Regions from separate parts of the Homo sapiens genome. Here all the other regions are linked to region 1. Evidence: promoter capture Hi-C in 16 types of primary human blood cells and fetal thymus (Javierre and others, 2016). All regions are on one chromosome and are shown on one strand. Each heading gives the region's core, a stretch centred on a gene start or on the middle of the fragment in contact. The rest is flanking DNA. Distances are from core to core; before and after follow the strand shown.

Region 1 (2,700 bases), core at 40-2,539:
GCTCACTATAACCTCCGCCTCCTGGGCGCAAGCCATCCTCCTGCCTCAGCCTCGTGACTAGCTAGGACTACAGGCGCATGCCACACACCCTGCTAATTTTTCTATTTTTTGTAGAGACGGGGTTTCACCATGTTGCCCAGGCTGGTCTCTAAGTCCTGAGCTCAGGTGATCTGCCTGCCTCGGCCTCCCAAAGTGCTGGGATTACAGGTGTGAGCCACTGCGCCTGGTCCATTTTAGCTGTTACCACAACACCCATCACCATTGCTGGCACATGGTAGGCAATCAATAATAATTTTTTTTCAAATTAATACATGAAAACTATTAGGAAAGAAGTAAAAAAATAACATAGCTATAAAGCTCTTTGAATGTTAGGTTATTGGGAAAAGCTGTGGAAAGCCAAGGATTTTCTTTCTCAAATTTATTTTTAGAATATTTTTTTCTACACAAAAGACCACAGATAAGGCAGAGAAAGATAAGAAAAAGACCACAAGCCCAAGGACTTGGAATTTGAATCATAAAGGTTCATTCTAGACTTGGGCAATATCTAGAACTTCTAGAACAATCAGTTTTCTAGAACATAGAAAAGATATTACCTTGGTGTTAGCTTTAACTCCTGCCAAATAATGCTTTAAATTATTTAAACTTTAAAAAGGTGTGTCAATGTATACATTGCAGGTAAATTCATGTTCCAGTAACTTTTGTTTTCTTTGTATGTTAAAAATCTAACTGTGGAAAACATTCTAGCTTGGTTTGAGAGTCCAATAATACAAAATGCTTTATTTCCTAAAATTGTTTGAGAGAAAACCAAAATGCTACCACACTGCAACAAAATACTAAAGAATTATTTGCTATGTCAGTTGACATATTTTTATTTAGATTTTGCCTAAGATGCCACATGAAGCCTATATAAGACATTCTTTCCCTAAAACTTACATATGTATGTACATATATATATATAATGTTTTACATCCTAAACAGTCTACTTCACGTCTTCACCAAATGTGCAGCAGCGTGATTCACAGGTTCACCACTGGAAAATAGACCTTAAAATTCCGCCAATATTGGGTCAAAGATCTTACACTATAACACATACTACACTGTGGGCACGGATCAACAGACGAGAATACTTTATACAGAAGCTTCTCGACGGAAGAAGGCCTTGGAGTGGGAAATCTAAAGGAGGGGACACACTACATGTCCCAGCACACCTTGCGACGCCCAGCGACCACAATTCCCAGAACGCACTGCTCGTCGCACGCAGGTTTTCCTTGTTGCCGGGGTTTGTAGTTCTTCTCGATCGTGTCAGTTTGTAAGGCGAGGGCGGAAGTTGGATTCCTGGCCTGAGAATATTAGGCGTAGTTTTCCAGTTTTTGGCAAAGCGGAAATACTTAAGGCCCCTGGGTTGACTGGGTTCTTTGTTTTATCTACCGGCTTCTGCTTTACGACAGGTAAGTCACGGAGGGGCTACAATTCCTCGCAGCAGGGCCCCACCTTTTATTTCTGGGAGCGACCTCGTTCTGGTGAGGCTATTTGTCCCTAAGCTCTCGCCGTAGCAGCCGCCGCCCATCCCTCTTTGTGTGCTTTGGAAAGCCGCGGAGCTGGTGGTGGCTACAGTTGGTGTTGGGGGCTTAGGCGAGGGACGTTACCGGGAAGTTGCAGGCGGGAGGACTCTTCCCCATCCAGTCACCTGACAGGTGGGTTGACTGTTCTTCCCTCAAGGCCTCCCTGCCTGTGTTCCACGTCGCAACTCGAAGGGCGGCTTGGCAGTTCCTGCTGACATCCCCGCCCGGCCCAGCTTTGGGGAGGAAAGGCGGGGAGACCTGGGTGCGGTGACTCATTGCGGCCCGGCGAGAGGAGTCCACTCCTTTCCCTTCTCGACCCTCCAGAGGCGGCCTGGGGAGCCTTGAGGCTTGTCCGGCGCCCACTGGCTTCTTCCGGACGCCCTGCCGTGGACCGCGCCCTCTTGGCCGTGACCCCAGGGGAGAAAGTGATTCGTTTTCGCCTTGCCCCATTTTACAAATTAAGGCCATCTCTACTTGCCTTGATAGTGTCTCCCCTCACCTTATGTGTGATGGAAAGCCCCCGAACACGGAGGTTCTAGCACAAAACTCTAGAGACTCTCTTCTCTTGAGTTTTAAGAACGTGAACATGTCGGTCATGGAGGAAGGCTCTGGCTTCTGTGAGGATGAGAGGATTGGTCAGCTGTAGTTCAGCTGGTCAAGACTTTGTTGTTGGGCTTTAAAAATGCGCTTATTTTAATATCAATTAGTGTTGGTATATCTGTTTTACAGTTGACGTTGAACAAAATATAATGTGCCTAGCGTAGCATACAGTTACGTATGGAAGTTCTCTTCACCAGCCGTTTGTATGGAGCTGTTTAGAGGTGTAGAAAGAGTGGAATAAGAAACACGGTCTCTTGCTTTTAGTTTGTTCAAACAAATCTTGGAAGATATTGTGTATATATTTCAGGTCTGCTATGTCAACTTTTCATCCTTTTCGTATGCTTGAAAATTATCAATTCGCTTGCCAGTCTTAATGGAGTTTAGTAGCTGAAATTTCCTTTATCCACTTCTTAGTAGGTGAATTTCTCCTCTTGACTGACTTACCTTTGTTCAGATTTAACAATTGTGCTTTTTAAGAGATTTCCCCTAACCTCTGGAAATACAGTTTTCCAGAGGTTATTCTCCTAGTTTTCTTGAT
Region 2 (2,700 bases), core at 139-2,638, 890 kb after region 1:
TTGCTCTGTTGCCCCAGGGTGGAATGCGGTAGTGTGATCTCGCCCACTGCAACCTCTGCCTCCTGAGTTCAAGTGATTCACCTGCCTCAGCCTCCCGAGTAGCTGGGATAACAGGCACCCGCCACCACGCCTAGCTAATTTTTTGTATTTTAGTAGAGACAGGGTTTCACCATATTGGCCAGGCTGGTCTCGAACTCGACCTCGTGTTATCCGCCTGCCTCGGCCTCCCGAAGTGCTGGGATTACAGGCATGAGCTACTGCACCTGGCCTAATGTTTACATTTTAAACAGTAAATATTACCTTTCTGTTATAGTAGTTGAGGAGTTAGCTCTCTTTAATAGAGCACCTGCTCCCCTCCCCTCCCCTAGCCCAAGGGCCAGTTTCCCTATACTATTATCCCAATATTTAAGTTTGTATATGAAATTCGAAGCTGAGAATAATCATCCTGCAAAATTTTGAAGGCATCCATTGTTCCTTTTTTAAAAAAGGTACAATTCAGTGGAATTCATAAGGTTATTCAAGTATTGCCGCTGTCTCATTTTAGAACATTTTCATCAGTCCTAAGAAAAAACCCAAGTACTCCGTCAGGCACAGCAGCTCATGCCTGTAATCCCAGCACTTTGGGAGGCCAAGTTGGGCAGATTGCCTGAGGTAAGGCGTTTAAGACCAGCCTGGCCAACATGGTGAAACCCCATCTCTACAAAAAATACAAAAAATTAGCTGGGTGTGGTGGCAGGCGCCTGTAATCCCAGCTATTCAGGAGGCTGAGGCACGAGAATCGCTTGAACCCAGCAGCAGAGGGTGCGGTGAGCCAAGATTGCACCACTGCACTCCAGCCTGGGTGACAGATTGAGACTCCATCTGAAAAAAAGAAAAAAAGGAAAATACGCAGTACCTATGAAGTCACTTCCCGTTTTTCTCTCTTCTAGCCCTTGGCAACCACTGATCTATTTTCTGTTTGTGTATTTCTCTTTCTGGGCATTTTATATAAATTTAATCATGCAGTATGTGGTCTTTTGTTACTGACTTCTTTCACTTAGTATAATGTTATAGTATGCATTTGTACTTCATTCCTTTTTATGACCAAATGATATTCTGTTATATGGATATAACACCTTTGGGTTATCCATTCATCAGTTGATAGACATTTGGTTTGTTTCTATTTTTTGGTTATTATAAATAATATGGCTATGAATGTTTGTGTACAAATTATTGTGTGAACATGTGTTTCAGTTATCTTATGTATATACCTAGGAATTGAATTGCTGAATCATAGGAAACTCTGTTTAACTTGAGAAACTGCCAAACTGTTTTCCAAAGGACCTGCACCATTTTGCATTGTCATCAACAATGTGTGAAGGTTCCTGTTTTACCTCGTCCTTGTCAACAATTGTAGTCTGTCTTTTTTATTATAGACATTATTGTGAGTGTGAAGTGGTATCTCAGTGTGGTTTTTATTTGCATTTGTCTAATGACTATGATGTTGAGCATCTTTTCATTTGCTGATCGGCCATTTGTGTATCTTTGAAGAAATGTAGATTAAGATCCTTTTTTCAGTTTTAAAATTGGCTGTCTTTTATTGTTGAGTTGTAACGGTTCTCTCTCATGTATATGTGTATATATATATAGGGATTCTATGTGTGTGTATATATATACACACACATACATATACATATATACATACATATGTGTATATATACGCATATATACATATATGTGTGTGTATATATATACACCCTATATATATTCTATTTGTGTGTATATATTCTATGTGTGTGTATATATATATACACTCTCTCTAGATATATATATATGTATATAGGGGTTACTAGTCCCTGATGAGATGTATGATTTGCAAGTATATTCTCCCATTCCGTGGGTTCTTTTCACTTTCTTGATAGTATCCTTTGAAGTACAAAGTTGTGTTTTTTTGTTTTTTGCTTTTTTAAATAGAGATGGGGTCTTGCTATGTTGCCCAGGCTGGTCTTGAACTCCTGAACTTAAGCAGTCCTCCCACCTTGGCCTCCCACAGTGCTGGGATTACAGGTGTGAGTCACCACACCCAGCCAAAGTTTTTAGTTTTGAAAATTTTCAATTTTTTTTTCACATTGCATGTGATTTCAGTTTTATGTCTAAGAAACCATTGCCTACTCCAAAGTCTTGACGACTTATGCCTATGTTTCTAAGAGTTTTATAGTTTTAGCTTTTATATTTAGGTCTTCGATCCATTTTGAGTTAAGTTTTGTACATGGTTTGAGGTAGAGGTTCATCTTCATTCTTTTGCATGTGGATATCCAGTTGTCCCAGTACTATTTGTGAAAAACCTATTCTTTCCCCATTCAATTGCCCTGTCACCCTTGTCAAAAATCAATTGCTCATAAATGTATGGGATTTATTTCTGGATTTTCAGTTCTATTTCATTGATGTATATATCTCTCGTTATGCAAGTACTTAATGCCTGTCTCAATGATTGTAGCTTTAAGTTTTGAAATTTGCAAGTGTGAGTCCTACAACTTCTTTTTCAAGATTATTTTGGCTGTTATGGGTTCTTGCATTTCCATGGGTTTTAGGATCAGCTTGTCAATTTCTGCAAAAAAACAATGCCAGCTAGAATTTTGATGGGCATCATTTGGGAAGTGTTGCCATCTTAGAGTTAACAATATTAACTCTTCTAATTCATGAATACAAGATATCTTTACA
Region 3 (2,700 bases), core at 1-2,500, 980 kb after region 1:
GGGTTTCAATGATTGCCCCCTTTAAATTGCCCAGACTTCCAAGTTCCTTCCTGAAGTCCATGCTCTGATCTCAGACTAGGGTGGACCTAGACTTTCTAGTGTTAAATCAAACTCAGGATCCTTCACAAGCTTCCCTATTTTGCCTTCCCTGCAGCTCTCTAGGTTTGCTTTTGTTTGCCCTAAGGGCTAGGGTGTGGTGAGGGAATGAGAAATTATGTTCTGAGGACTTATTATTCTCTTTCTATTCATAATTATTTTGAAGTTTGGACATTCTGTCTTTAGGTTATGCTGAAGGTGTGGCTTGCATATAAATTCACTTTTTGTCCTTTGTTTGGATCCATGAAGAGGCAGGTGGCTATGCTGTTGCTGTTGCCTGAGCCTACCCTGAAGCCCCTTAACCTCACTTTTGTTAAAAATTGTAGCAGAAGTGCAATTTGCCTACCAGATTCCTTTTCTCTCTCATTCTTCCTTGATAACAAAACCCCAGTTTGCACAGGAAGAATCAGATATGCAGCGTTGGCATTTTAAAATCTAATTTCTAGGCTCCTGTGACCAAGTAGCACAGTTTGGTCAAACAGACATAAGCAGCAATCGATGGGGTGGGGTTTGTGGAAAAGTCTGAGTGTCTATGGAAATGGTCAGACTGAGCTAGCAAAGCCCTTTGCCCTATTCCTTCCCTCATTTTTCTTCCTGGATCACTCAGACATAACACCTGGAGAAGCAGCAGTTATTTTGTGGCCATAAGCATGAAAGCCAAAAGGTAAGGATGATGGAACAGAAAAATAGTAGGAGCCTGCATATTTGAGGAGCTGGGTCAGCTCTGGATTTCCTCTTCCCAGATTTCTGGTAATATAAGAAATATAAACTTCTTTATTAATTAAGGCCTGATGTTTTAGGTCTCTGTTGAGGGCTGTATATACGATCAATACTTTGATTTACTGAGGCATTTCCTCCTTTGCATTGACAAGATTATCATTTCCACAGCTCAACTTGACTAGGGTCCCACTAACCTACTACACATGCTATTCCTTATGTCTCAGTTGTACGTTAAAAGGCTCAAGATTTACATCAATAGAGGAGTACAGAGAAGACATTCCTGTAGGTATCTTTCTCCAGTAGTCTATACAGATGTTGGAAATAAATTTTCAGTGCCACAAATAAATAGCACTCAAACATAAATTTAATTTTCTCAGCAAGGCAATTTTACTTCTGTAGAAGGGTGTATCTTGTGGATGGAGCAATGGCGAGAGCACACCTGAACAAGGGAGGGGAAGGGGTTCTTATCCCTGACGCAGGTAGCCCCTACTGCTGTGTCGTTCCCCTATTGGCTAGGGTTGGACCACACAGTCTAAGCTAATTCTGATTGGCTATTTTAAAAAGAGCAGGGGTACGAGCTGGAGTGGCAGGGTGACTAGTTTGGTGGGAAGGATGGTTACAGAACAGGTGACTCAGGGTGACTAAGAACAGAGCAGGTGACCAAAGATGACTAAGGTCAGAGTAGGTGACCGGGGTGACTAAGGTCAGAGCAGGTGATAGAGGCTAGAAGGGGGTTATTTACTGAAACTAGGGGCAAGAGACGTAAAGAATGAGGAAGTTTAAAATGAAGAACAAAGAACAAGAGAGCTGAACATACTGATACATTAGTTCTTTGGAGAGGATCTCAGAACTCATTGTACTTAACAATTTACTGGCTAAAACCTTTGAAGAGGAATTTATTATATCCTACGCAGACACAGAAAGTTTTGTTGTGAAGAAAGAAATTTTAATTTTTTAATTTTTTATTTGTATAAATCTAAGGGGTGCAGTTTTGTTACGTGGATATATTATGTAGTAGTGAAGTCTGGGCTTTTCGTGTAACCATCATTCAAATAATGTACATTGTACTCATTAGGTAGTCTCTCATCTCTCACCCACTCTCACCCTTTCACCCTTTCAAGGGAACTAGAAAAAGGAAGACATTTTTAATACTCACATATTCCTAGAAAACAGAAGCAGGACCTCTAGGGAAGTAGGACTGGGGTGGTCAGAAAGCAGAGGGAATGAGAGGGAAATGTGGGAAAGGGCCTTTATTGTGGTTGTCTGCAGAAGGAACAGGCAAGACAGAGTGAGCAGGTTTAGAATGAACTATTTTGAATAATTTCAGCAAGGTCTGGGGCAATGGGGCTGTCCCTAGTTGCCTGGTACCTGGCCCAGGGGTGATTAGGAGAGGGATACAGTTTCACAGAGTATAAGAACCAAATAAAGAAGGTGATTGGTAATGTAGGCTCTGAATTAGTTGGTTTGCATATGAAAGGTGCAAACATTTGCTATCTCTGGAAATTAGCTAACCCTGGGAAGGACAAATCCTCCAGGTCAGCAACTCCCTGGATGTGAAAGCTTCAAATTCAGAAACTAGAAAAGCATGGTTTTCGCAAATATTACTGCAATGACCTCAGTTTCTTGTAAAGACCATCTGATAAAACATTCTTGTCAGATATAAGCTAATTCATAAGGTAATTCTGTATTCTGTAGTGCTCTCTACTAAGTACACATATTACAATTTACATCACCATCACATACTAACACAGCTTCTGGTTTTGGGCTCTCTGCCATGTGGGTCCTCAATAAATAAAGCTTAATGAATGCTATAGAGTCTTTCAATAAGAAACTAAATGCCACCAATGACAGCACAGTTAATCAGTGGCAAAACCGGGAATTGAT
Region 4 (2,700 bases), core at 190-2,689, 780 kb after region 1:
GAGTAAAGGTGTTAGCAAAAGAGACCTAGCAACAAGGTCATTGGATCTCTAAAGAGCCTGTCAAGCTGTGAGATGGTGAAATTTTAAGGACTGTGGATTTGGACTGGGGGCCTCCTTATAGGAGATAAAAACACTCGGCTGGGGAGAAGAAGGAATATTACAGTGCCTAGTACATAAGTGGAGCTACACCAGTTGTCCCTGAATCCTTTGTGGGAGACTGATAGGATGAGAGAGGACGAACTCTTGTAATGTGACAAAAGTGCAAGGAAGTAAGAACTGACTTGGAAGAACAAACATCAACTTGTACACCTCAAATATATCTGCTTTTTATTTGTCCATTCTACCCTAATAAAACTGGAGGGAAAAAAAAAAAAGAATTGGAAAGAGGCCAAGGCTGCAAGTGAATAATTCAGTCGAGTTGTATCTTACTTACCATTAGGTTCTCTCAATTAGTATATAAACTGAAAATCTAAGATATAGTCAGAATTACCCTTGAAAACTACCTCAGGAAGGCACAGTGTTAGAAACTGACATATTATTGCTTATTACATTTAGTGTGGCCATTTTTTCCTTCCATTGTCACAAGTATTTGGTTTCTTCTCTTGAGTTTCATATGATATCCCTGGCATCATAGGGGCTTAGAGGTTGTATTCTTTGAAGAGGGTGTCTTTTAAACACCAGATCATACCCAGCAAGAAATGCTGATACTATGAGAGACAGGCCTATTTTCCTCGTTTTGGTATCCCCTCTTTGGCTTCCCCTGTTTAGTTGTGTTTGTGCGTTTTGCATGAACCAGCCATAGGACTCTACATTTGTTCTCACTCACTGCCTAAGCTGTTGAAGAATTAGTGGACTCCTAGACAAAGAATAATCCCACTATCTCCTAGTTCTGACTGATTTAACTGTTAAACGTATATTAAATTCAAATCTCCAAATTGTCTCTGTTTCATCAACAGGTTGCTCGTGGGGGCCCCGCGGGCAGAAGCGCTTCCACTGCAGAGAGCCAACAGAACGGGAGGGCTGTACAGCTGCGACATCACCGCCCGGGGGCCATGCACGCGGATCGAGTTTGATAACGATGGTGCGTTCCTTTCCCTCACTCAGCGTTCACTCCGGCAGCTTGCCTGTACTGTTTCCATGAGGGAGGAGAGTGGGGACAAACATTTATTCTTGTAGAGAGGACTTCTTTTAATTGCATCAGACTTGACTGTTTTTTATTTGCCCTGAAAATATTTACTTACTTTACTTCTGAATCATACTGGGATGCCGCGTGTTTTGCTGCTCCTCCTAACCGTGGTTTCTAAACCGATATGGTGTAGGGATGTTGCCACCTAGTGATGTGTTGAGGTTCTGCAGGAGGTTGTGGAAAAACTCATTTCATAGCAATGAAGAGAATGAATGAGCGTATCTTGTATTCATCAGCCAAAAGTTCTCACATGCTGTTAAAATATTTGGGAGAAAGACAGTTTTAAATATCAGACCCCTTTGGAATGAGAGCTGGCTAACAGAGATAAAGTTTTCCCTCCTGTCTCAGATAGAGACTTGTTTTGTTAAGGGCTCTGGATAGGTAGAAGATACCATGAGGTAGGCATGTTGACATCCAGTGTACCTGGCTTCTTGTAGGTTGAGCAGAGCAATTAGTGTACTGAGAAGCTCTAGCCAAACCTCGTTTGATATGTTCGGTCTAAGTAGATTTGCAGATTCGTGTCTATGTTCTTCTCTTGCTTCTTCATCTTTTAGAAATAACATTTGTTGGCCAGGCGTCGGTGGCTCACACCTGTAATCCTAGCATTTTGGGAGGCCGAGTTGGGTGGATCATTTGAGGTCAGGAGTTCAAGACCAGCCTGGCCAACATGGTGAAACCCCATCTCTACTAAAAATACAAAAATTAGCCAGGCGTGGTGGTGTACGCCTGTAGTCCTAGCTACTTAGGAGGCTGAGGCGTGAGAATTGTTTGAACCTGGGAGGCAGAGGCTGCAGTGAGCCAAAATCGTGCCACTACACTCCAGCCTGGGTGACAGAGCAAGATACCATCTCAAGAAAAGAAATAACATGTGTTCTTTTATTAGAAACTAATATGTGTTAATTTTAAGAAGCTGGTAAAATACACAGACCTATGAAGAATAAAAAAACCCACTGGCAATCTCAGTATCTAGACTTATTTTTTAACATTTTGGCATTTTTCCTTCTGTCTAAAGTTGTTTAATGTTTTTGTAATGATTCAAGATTAAAACCTGTGTCTGTATTGCTACTTATGGAGGAGTGCAAAATTTGGATATAGGTCACACAGTGGGTTTAAATTGATACTGAAATGAGCACCTGGTGGTGTTTGTGGTCCCCGTCTCTCTGACTAACAGTAACTCTCCTGTTTGGCATTGATACATTGTCAGCTACAAGATCCTAAAGTAAATCTGAGTCTTTTTCTTCCATCTCCAGTAAAGAAGAGAACATTTAATGCTGTTAAATAAAAAAATTGGGGAGTATATAGAGAAGTACCCATTTTTTTTGTTAGTTTGGATGGTAGCTGCAGTTTGGAATACTAGATTTTACATTGTTGCCTTAAGAGATGTATTTTGGAGGGCTCCCTTAGTCTTACAGTTTCACTTACCTTCTGCATTCAGGACCCTAGGTATCAAGAGAGGGCAAAGGGTATTGTTGGACAAAATAGGCAACTATATAGAGCTAAGTACTTTATGTTTC
Region 5 (2,700 bases), core at 104-2,603, 830 kb after region 1:
ACCATGCACAGCTACCTTTATATTTTTAGTAGAGATGGGGGTTTCAGCATGTTGGCCAAACTGGTCTGAAACTCCTGACCTCAAGTGATCTGCCTGCTTCAGCCTCCCAAAGTGCTGGGATTACAAGAGTGAGCCACCGCACACGGCTGAAATAAATTTAATTCTATGACTTGCATACCTGTTCACTTGAGATCTGAAAGATGGACTCATGGTGGCTGTTTCTCCTAGCAAGCATGGCACAGAGCCCCAGGATTCAATGTTGAGTGTCTTCCAGCTTTCTAAGCCATCATCAGAGAAGGATTGTGACCTCTTGATTCCATTTTCTTGACCTTCGATTGCAACTTCAAGTATTTGCCTTCAACCCTATTTTGAAAAATAAAAATGAAATCCTAAGCCCCCCAACCAAATAAATGGACCCCCTCTTTGCCACAGGGACCCCAGAGTAATTTTGAAAACCTGAATTTAAGGGATGCTGCATCTCCCTTTTGGGGTTTTGACACAACAATTGACCAGCATTTCTTCCTAATAAGAGACCACTGACCACAGAGTGGCTCTGGCTAGTGTACATGTGACTCATGAAGGGGCATGAAGCCCCATTGCATATATGCACATTTCTCCTTTTGTAAATATTCATGATTCCTATTGCTGGCCACTCTGTTCAGCATAGACTCCTGTTCCCTTTGCCCCTCCCTCAAAGTATCTGTTTCTAGCTCCTGGCCAGAGGCTATCCTTCCCAGTGTCAGAATGGTCACCCTGCCAGCTGCAAACTTTTATGAAAAATAAAGCTCTCCTTTCCAAATTTATAAACTTTGTAACCAACCAATAGGTTCTCCTTGCCTACTGCCCAGATAGAGCCAATTTATCAAGACAGGGGATTGCAATAGAGAAAGAGTTTAATGCATGCCTCTGGGGATTCAGTCAGGATGGTGGGGAAAATTATAAGACGCAAACCTTCTTGGAAGGCCTGGGGGAGATGCATAAGCTCCAGTAATAAACTTGGCTGAAGGCAGCCTTGTCCCCTTAGTTAAGTAAATTAAAGTAGAAACAAAGGAATGTGCGGAGTTTATCTAACTAGCTTGTTTACTCATGTGGTCCTAAGACTAACCTTTGATTTACTGTGGGTGCTTAACTGATTTCTACTCAGGAGGTCCACAATGTCAACTACCCTCTAGTGGTGTTTACTCACGACCTTTGTCAATTAACCTTTACTGAATAAATGCAAGTCTCACTGACTGATCAAGGCCGCAGTCACAACTGTTTACAGCACTCTGCTTGTAGTCTGTAAGCAGCCTGGACACTCAGCTGGACTGGCAAAGCAGCATATCTGTGTGTCAGTGTACTTTATTCATCCGTTGTTGGGTCAGGGTCTGTGGGACAGACTCCGCAGCTGGTGCCCTGTGTGGGGATCGCTGTGAAGGGAGCGCGACAGACCCCCAGAAATGAAGGTGGAGAGGACTGGCGGTCAAGTCAGTAAAACAGTGAGTCATTGGTGCCTGCTTGGGATTACCAAGTTTGGGGGGGTGGGGGATTGTTCAGGCTGAGATTTCATCATGGGACAATAGTTATCAGTTCAACAAAGACAGTACATAAAAGTGTTGAAACAGTTACTTAAGGCTAGGGGAGCATCAGTTTTGCAGGCTCAATTAAGAGACCCAATGCAAACTGTTGTCTCACTTAATCCATGGTTCCCAGAAGAAGGACCGCTAGATGTAGAGGTCTGGGAACAAGTGGGGAGAAATATTAAACAACGTTATGCACAAGGGCAATGTGTCCCAGTAACAGCTTTTAATGCTATGGGCTTTAATTAGAGCAGCCCTAGTTCCGTTATACACAGAAGAGCCTAAAAAGGGGAAGGAGGAGGAACCGTCACCTATCTTATCGCCTCCTCTTCCCTCAGCCCTGATATTACTGGGCCAAAATAACAAAGAGGAAACAGAAGTTGTGCCTGAGCCACCTCCTCCAATAGATAAGAAAAAAAAAACAAAACAAGAGATACACTACAGCTATGAAACCCTGTCTTAAGCAGGCAGCATTAAAAGGGGAGCTCTTAGCCTGCCCAATAATGCAAAATCAGCAAGGCAATCAGGTACCTAAAGAGTTGTTAAAAAAAAGCATTAGAGGCCAAAGCCAGGCGGCCAAGCGAGCAGTAAGCAGAAGGAGAGACTTGGCAGAGAGGAAGTTCGGGAAACCAAAGCCAGCAAGTGCTCCCAGGAACTCTGTCCACACGGAGGCAGCGGCAACAAACAGCCAGGCCCAGTGCTTGGAAGTTAGCCTGTTAGAGAGAGGCAGGAGGCGCATGTGGGAAAGTCGGCCCAGTGGGCAACAGCCACTGGGCAGCGGGGGTAGGAAGTGGCACAGGCGAAAAGCGGCACAGAAAAAAGCAGCGCTTTTGCAAGCGCAACACAGCTGCCACTCCAGGACCAGTCTGCTTAGCTCTCCAGCTCTGCAGGTGGCCCACGGCAAAATTTCATGTGCTCCTTGTAGACAAGAGACATCCCAAATTATAATTCTATGCTAAGATTTAAGTAAAATTTAATAATTTGAAAAACCTCTTTCTGATAATGGGCACTGTTATCTCTCTCTTACCCCTAACTCTCTCCAAATCCAATTTAAGTAAAACTGTAACCTCTAAAGGGAGAGAAATTACAAACGGCCCATGAGTTAGTTAAGGAGCAGTTAAAGCAAACTTTACTCCCCAGT
Region 6 (2,700 bases), core at 26-2,525, 860 kb after region 1:
CTTCACACAGATGTGAGTGAAAACCATTGCACCTCTGAAAGGATTAACAAAATAAAATAAGTATTTGGTTATTCTGCCCCTCCTTAGTTGGTTTACCCAATGAGCTTCTCCCTTGTAAACCAAAAATAAAATTCGGCTGGGGCAGTGGCTCAGGCCTGTAATCCCACCACTTTGGGAGGCGAGGTGGGCAAATCATCTGAGGTCAGTAGTTCAAGACCAGCCTGACCAACAGGGTGAAACCCCATCTCTACTAAAATTACAAAAATTAGCCAGGTGTGGTGGCACATACTTGTAATCACAGCTACTCGGGAGGCTGAGGTTGGAGAATCACTTCAACCCAAGAGGCGGAGGTTGCAGTGAGCTGAGATCATGCCACTACACGTCAGCCTGGGCAACAGAGTGAGACTCTGTCTCAAAAAATATATATATTCTAAACCCTCCAACCAACTGAATGGACCCCTCCTTTTGGCCAAGAGCATTCCAAAGTTAACCTGAGAAACTAGTTCAGGCCATGATGGGAAGGCGGGGTCAGACATGTCTCATTATTCTGTCCTCCCTTCTGGAATTTAGGTACAGCTGACCAGCATTAACATTAACATAGAGATTTTACATCTGACAAAACAGACTGTTTGTAGCCTAAGATACCAACATGACAAGGAGCAGGTTCTGCAAGAAACTAAAGATTTTATCCCAAAATATATTTCTTGACATATTTTGAAATGGCCCTGCAAAGCTGTCTCTTGTGGGGAAAATCTACATTCTACAGAGAATCCTCTTCCCTTTCCAAGTACTTTCCCTGATTCAGAAGGGAATTAACTAACTCTGGCACCTTTTTAAAGTCTGATAAGAAACAGTTACAAGGTTGGGCACAGTGGCTCACGTCTGTAATCCCAGAACTTTGGGAGGCCGAGGACTCCCAAACTCTGTAAAATATTTGAAGAGATTTATTCCGAGCCAAATATGAGTGACCATGGCCCCGTGACACAGCTCTCAGGAGGTCCTCAGAACATGTGCCCAAGGTGATTGGGGCACAGTTTGGTTTTATACATTTTAGGGAGGCATGAGACATCAATCAAATACATTTAAGAAATACATTGGTTTAGTCCTGAAAGGTAGGACAATTCAAAGTTGGGGCTTCCAGGCTATAGGTAAATTTAAACATTTTCTGATTTACAATTGGTTGAGTTTATCTAAAGACCTGAGATCACAGAAAGGAAATGTTCAGGTTAAGATAAAGGATTGTGGAGACCAAGGTTCTTTTGAAGTTTTATTGTGGCTGCCCTCAGAGACAACAGATGACAAACGTTTCCTATTCAGATCTTTAAAAGGTGCTAGACTTTAAGTTAATCTTTTTAGGATTGGGAGGGCCTGGAAGTAAAAGATCTAGCTATGTTAATAGAGATTCTTTACTGATGCAAATTTTCCCCCACAAAAGACAGATTTGCAGGGCCATTTCAAGATATGGCAAAAAAACATGTTTTGGGATAAAATATTTTGCTTTTCTTCCTTGTCATGTAATGTTATTCCAGAGTCAGGGTGAAAAGTAAGTCTCGATATATAGGGTTAAATAAAACCCATCTGATGAGAATTTATGGTTTGTAGGGCATGACTCCCCAGAACTCTTAGATAGGAATTTGGGCAAGATAAAAAAATCAGAATTTACTCCTCAGTAGCAACACATGACAGATAGCAGGTCCTGAAATAAACTGAAGTGTTTTACTACAAAACATATTTTTTTGACATATTTTGAACTAGCCCTGCAAAGCTATTTCTTCTGGGGAAAATCTATATTCTGTAGAGGATCCCCTTCCCTTTCCAGGTTTTTCCTTTTAAGGTCTGACACCTTTTTAGGTCTGATAAGAGACATTTACTATCTGTTCTCTCTGAAGCCTGCTATGTGGGACCTTTATCTGTGTAATAAGAATCTTGGTCTCCACAACCCCTTGTCTTAATCCAGACACTCCTTTCAATTGATCCTAGGTCTTGAGATAGTAACTTAACTCTTTCAACCAATTGCCAGTCAGAAAATCTTTGACTCTCCCTATAACCTGGAAGCCCCCTCCTGCCACAAGTTTCCCAATCCCCCTATATTACGTCTTAAAGTTGTCCTGCCTTTTCAGACCAAAGCAGTGTACGCTTTACATGTACTGAGTGATGTCTGCCTGCAACTTCTGTTCCCCTAAAACTGTACACAATCAAGCTATGACCCGACCACCTTGGGCACATGTTTTCAGGACCTCTTGGGACTGTGCCTCAGGCCTTGGTCACTCACATTTGGCTCGGAATAAATCTCTTAAAATATTTTACAGAGTTTGAGTCTTTTTTTTAAATCAACAGTTCAAATAAATTTTTAAAACTTTTAATGTGCCCAAATTTATCTTTTAACATTACCAGTCTCAGTTTGTGAAAGTCTAGAGTTCTCCCTGTCCATGTCTGTAAATTCTTGAGGCTCATAGTCTCATTTATAGTACCCCCCACCCCACCACCACTCAGACTCTTTGTGTGCAAAGTCTATCTCCATTGCCACAAACTCTCATAAAAAAAATTCATCCTTTCCTCCAATTTTCACAAAAGCACAACACATAAAAGCTTCAGTATCCAATAATCTCTCTTTTTTTGCAAACTTTACTGAAGGTTTGGGTTATAAGGAGTGCTCACATTGTGAACAGTCTTTGCAATCTTCTGCCTCCTCCCCTTCCC
Region 7 (2,700 bases), core at 96-2,595, 900 kb after region 1:
TTGTTGGGAATTGGGCGATGACCGCTGTAGCTACTTCTTGCTGGATAGGGGCAAAGAAGGGGCCCTGCAGTTGTAGTGTCCTCCAGAGGGGAACTCTTTAGGCCAGTGAAAGGGCCAGCGGGTCAGTCCAGGGGTCCTTGATAGAAGTTGTTAGTTGAGTTCATTTGGGATTCCATTTGTAAGACCATCTATAGCTTGATGGCCTTGATTCTAGAGGAAACAAATTTGACAAGGAGGTTAAAAATACAGGGTCCGAAGGTGAGTAATAGCAAGATGGCTGTCACAGGACCTAGAAAGGGGAGAAGCCATGTTGCCCAACTCCAGAGGTTGGTATAAGAGTTTGAAAGGTGTTGTCTGATTTCGGAAGACTTTTCCTGTAAACGCCGGGCGGCATCTCATACTATCCCTGACTGGTTAGTGTAAAAACAACATTCTTCTCCTAAGAAGGTGCAGAGTCCTCCATTCTCAGCAGTGAGGAGGTTTAGGCCTTGGCGGTTTTGGAGAGTCACTGCTGCCAAAGAGTCTATTTGGGATTGTAGAGTAAGGATAGATTTCGTTATTTCTTGCAAACTGTCTAAGAAATCCTTTGAGAGTGTTTGGTAGTAGGATAATGAAGTAGATAAACTGGCTGTTCCGGTTCCTGTAGCAGTGGCCATTTCTAACTCTGTAAGTAGGGGTATTAGTTGTATGGCCCTGCGCTGATGGACTTGAGCTTTGAGGGGCACTGATAGGGTCTGATTTCCATAAGATTAGAAGTTAAGATAATAAATGTTACACTGTTAACTTTTAGCAAACTTTACTTTTGTTGAAAACCTTGTAAGTTTGGAATTTCAATTATTCCTTGCTATTAATAAGACCTCGTTCAGTCCATATTAACTTAAAATTGGTATAGATGGCTCCTTCCTGATTCTGTAAGTACTTTAAGGTTTGGCTGAGTGCAAACAGCTCGCATATTTGAGCAGACCAATTATTAGGCAATTTTCCTAACTCTGCTTCTACAATAGTTTCCTTATTACTTACTGAGTACCCATTGTGTCTTTTTCCCTTAATCGCCTGGGAGGAAACATCTATTGTCCTGTCCTGAAGGGAGTTCCTCCTGTGTCTGGTCGGACCTTCAGATTTAGATCCCCTGTTAGGAAACCTGCTGGGTTAAGGATTTTTGATAGGAAAGCTACGGGTTGTCAGTGGTCTCAGTGCTTCCGGGCTATGCCCTTGTTTACACTGACAACAAGGTGGTATTGGAGTGTTATAGGGTTACAGAGAAGACCTTCAATTATCAGTTATAGGTTTTAAATTTACCCTGGCTTTTGAAGGAATAGGGTACACTGTTTTTTCTTTACTACTTCTATCTCTCTTTCTCTTTGACTTCTTTGCCTCTCTCTTTCTGACTCCTCTTTGTCTCTTCCTCTCTCTGACTTTTTGTGTCTCTCTTTCTCTCTCTCTCTGACTCCCTCTTTGTCCCTGTCTCTTCCTCTCTCTGTCTCTGACTTTGTCTCTTTCTTTCTTTCTCTCTGACTCCCTCTTTGTCTCTCTCTTCCTCTGTCTCTCTCTCTGACTTTCTGTCTCTTTCTCTCTTTCCTTTCTGCTGGTCTTTCCCTGCCTCTGCCAGCTGCTTATGCTGCTCTTCTCCCCTCTCCTGGAGAAGTCCGCAGACCAAGAACCCACTGGAAGGAACCAATTCCAGACACAATACGACCGAGCAGGCCAGCAAGGAAAAGCAATATGCTTTTTCGAGACCAACCACAAGTCATTTTATAGAAAGAATAAAGAGTTTTAAATGACCAGAGGGAAGTCAGCTGATACAGTACTCAAGTAAACCTCAGCTTAATCATTGTCAATGCTTAAATATTAATTATATTAAATATAATGCATCTCTCAGATGCGGGCTCTGATAGCCCCGTGGTACTCAATGGCATCTATCTTAATTAGAAAAGTATTTCAGTGTGTGTCTTTCTGAATAGAATTTTGTTTTTCTCATCAAACAGGCTGGTTTTGGTTATGGATTGCCCATATCACGTCTTTACGCACAATACTTCCAAGGAGACCTGAAGCTGTATTCCCTAGAGGGTTACGGGACAGATGCAGTTATCTACATTAAGGTAATAGCTGTAGTCTTCTTGATTTAATATTTCTTTTGATGATAAGAACAGATGTCCATACTTAACTGTAATGAAATTTAACTCTACCACATGCTGTTTAAATAGAAAAAAACTATGGTTTTTTGCTGGGGATCTCACCCATTTTGATAGATGATCCCCTAAAACTATGGGGAAAGAGATTTGTATCCTGGAGTGATTAGGACTCTGTCTATTAATAGGAAAAAAATTGGGTTAAAGTAGAGAATCATAAGTTATATATCATACAAGTTTAATTTTAACATAAAACACATGAATGGACATTGATAACGCCAAACTTTTGATGTACTGCCAAGGCTTTTTTTTTGTATATGGGTCTGCAGATTGGAGTGTCACATTGTCTTTTTTGCAAAAGCTGTACTGACAGTGCATCATTTTAGTTTCTTTAAACCAACAAGTGCATACTCTTTTTGGACTTTTATGCAGTCCTTTACAGATACCTCCTGACTGATTTGACAGCAAGTTTTATGTGACTTTCCTTCATGAGTCTTTCCAAAACATTCATCTTAGTTTTCAAGGAAACATTCCCCTTTTTATTCTTTGCTTATGTAATAAATTTTGTAAT

The links. The method cuts DNA at HindIII sites, captures the fragments that hold promoters and counts their contacts. A CHiCAGO score of 5 or more calls a contact.
Region 2: a contact is called between a fragment that was not itself captured here and the fragment with the promoter of DYNC1I2 in region 1, in 1 of 17 cell types (non-activated CD4 T cells). The highest score is 5.8, in non-activated CD4 T cells.
Region 3: a fragment that was not itself captured here is called in contact with the fragment with the promoter of DYNC1I2 in region 1 in 1 of 17 cell types (naive CD4 T cells); the score reaches 5.0 in naive CD4 T cells.
Region 4: a contact is called between the fragment with the promoter of ITGA6-AS1 here and the fragment with the promoter of DYNC1I2 in region 1, in 10 of 17 cell types (fetal thymus, naive CD8 T cells, naive CD4 T cells and 7 more). The highest score is 12.0, in fetal thymus.
Region 5: a contact is called between a fragment that was not itself captured here and the fragment with the promoter of DYNC1I2 in region 1, in 1 of 17 cell types (non-activated CD4 T cells). The highest score is 5.5, in non-activated CD4 T cells.
Region 6: a contact is called between a fragment that was not itself captured here and the fragment with the promoter of DYNC1I2 in region 1, in 6 of 17 cell types (fetal thymus, naive B cells, naive CD4 T cells and 3 more). The highest score is 9.0, in fetal thymus.
Region 7: a contact is called between a fragment that was not itself captured here and the fragment with the promoter of DYNC1I2 in region 1, in 2 of 17 cell types (naive CD8 T cells and non-activated CD4 T cells). The highest score is 6.5, in naive CD8 T cells.

Annotation. Positions count from the first base shown.
Region 1 is chr2:171,686,180-171,688,879 of GRCh38, forward strand. DYNC1I2 (dynein cytoplasmic 1 intermediate chain 2) reads left to right here and starts at 1,290. Exons shown (of 18, transcript NM_001378.3): 1 at 1,290-1,448. RefSeq lists an enhancer at 1,291-1,460. The HindIII fragment of the contact is 4,493 bases long and covers 1,138-2,700 here.
Region 2 is chr2:172,571,861-172,574,560 of GRCh38, forward strand. The region is part of intron 8 of PDK1 (pyruvate dehydrogenase kinase 1); the gene reads left to right. Among named protein-coding and RNA genes, the nearest start is that of PDK1-AS1, 17 kb to the left of the region's middle. The HindIII fragment of the contact is 7,478 bases long and covers 1-2,700 here.
Region 3 is chr2:172,665,205-172,667,904 of GRCh38, forward strand. It overlaps a transcript of PDK1 not described here. Among named protein-coding and RNA genes, the nearest start is that of RAPGEF4, 69 kb to the right of the region's middle. The HindIII fragment of the contact is 2,247 bases long and covers 128-2,374 here.
Region 4 is chr2:172,464,583-172,467,282 of GRCh38, forward strand. ITGA6-AS1 (ITGA6 and PDK1 antisense RNA 1) reads right to left here and starts at 1,440. Exons shown (of 2, transcript NR_157573.1): 1 at 1,242-1,440. ITGA6 (integrin subunit alpha 6) reads left to right here. Exons shown (of 26, transcript NM_000210.4): 2 at 957-1,081. The region is part of intron 3 of PDK1-AS1 (PDK1 and ITGA6 antisense RNA 1); the gene reads right to left. RefSeq lists an enhancer at 1,681-1,850. The HindIII fragment of the contact is 13,641 bases long and covers 1-2,700 here.
Region 5 is chr2:172,512,156-172,514,855 of GRCh38, forward strand. The region is part of intron 1 of PDK1-AS1 (PDK1 and ITGA6 antisense RNA 1); the gene reads right to left. Among named protein-coding and RNA genes, the nearest start is that of PDK1, 43 kb to the right of the region's middle. The HindIII fragment of the contact is 3,528 bases long and covers 1-2,700 here.
Region 6 is chr2:172,548,739-172,551,438 of GRCh38, forward strand. All of the region lies in intron 1 of PDK1-AS1 (PDK1 and ITGA6 antisense RNA 1), which reads right to left. Among named protein-coding and RNA genes, the nearest start is that of PDK1, 6.0 kb to the right of the region's middle. RefSeq lists enhancers at 93-835, 836-1,577. The HindIII fragment of the contact is 2,623 bases long and covers 1-2,587 here.
Region 7 is chr2:172,590,950-172,593,649 of GRCh38, forward strand. It overlaps PDK1 (pyruvate dehydrogenase kinase 1), which reads left to right. Exons shown (of 11, transcript NM_002610.5): 10 at 1,986-2,099. Among named protein-coding and RNA genes, the nearest start is that of PDK1-AS1, 36 kb to the left of the region's middle. RefSeq lists a silencer at 989-1,196. The HindIII fragment of the contact is 4,568 bases long and covers 1-2,700 here.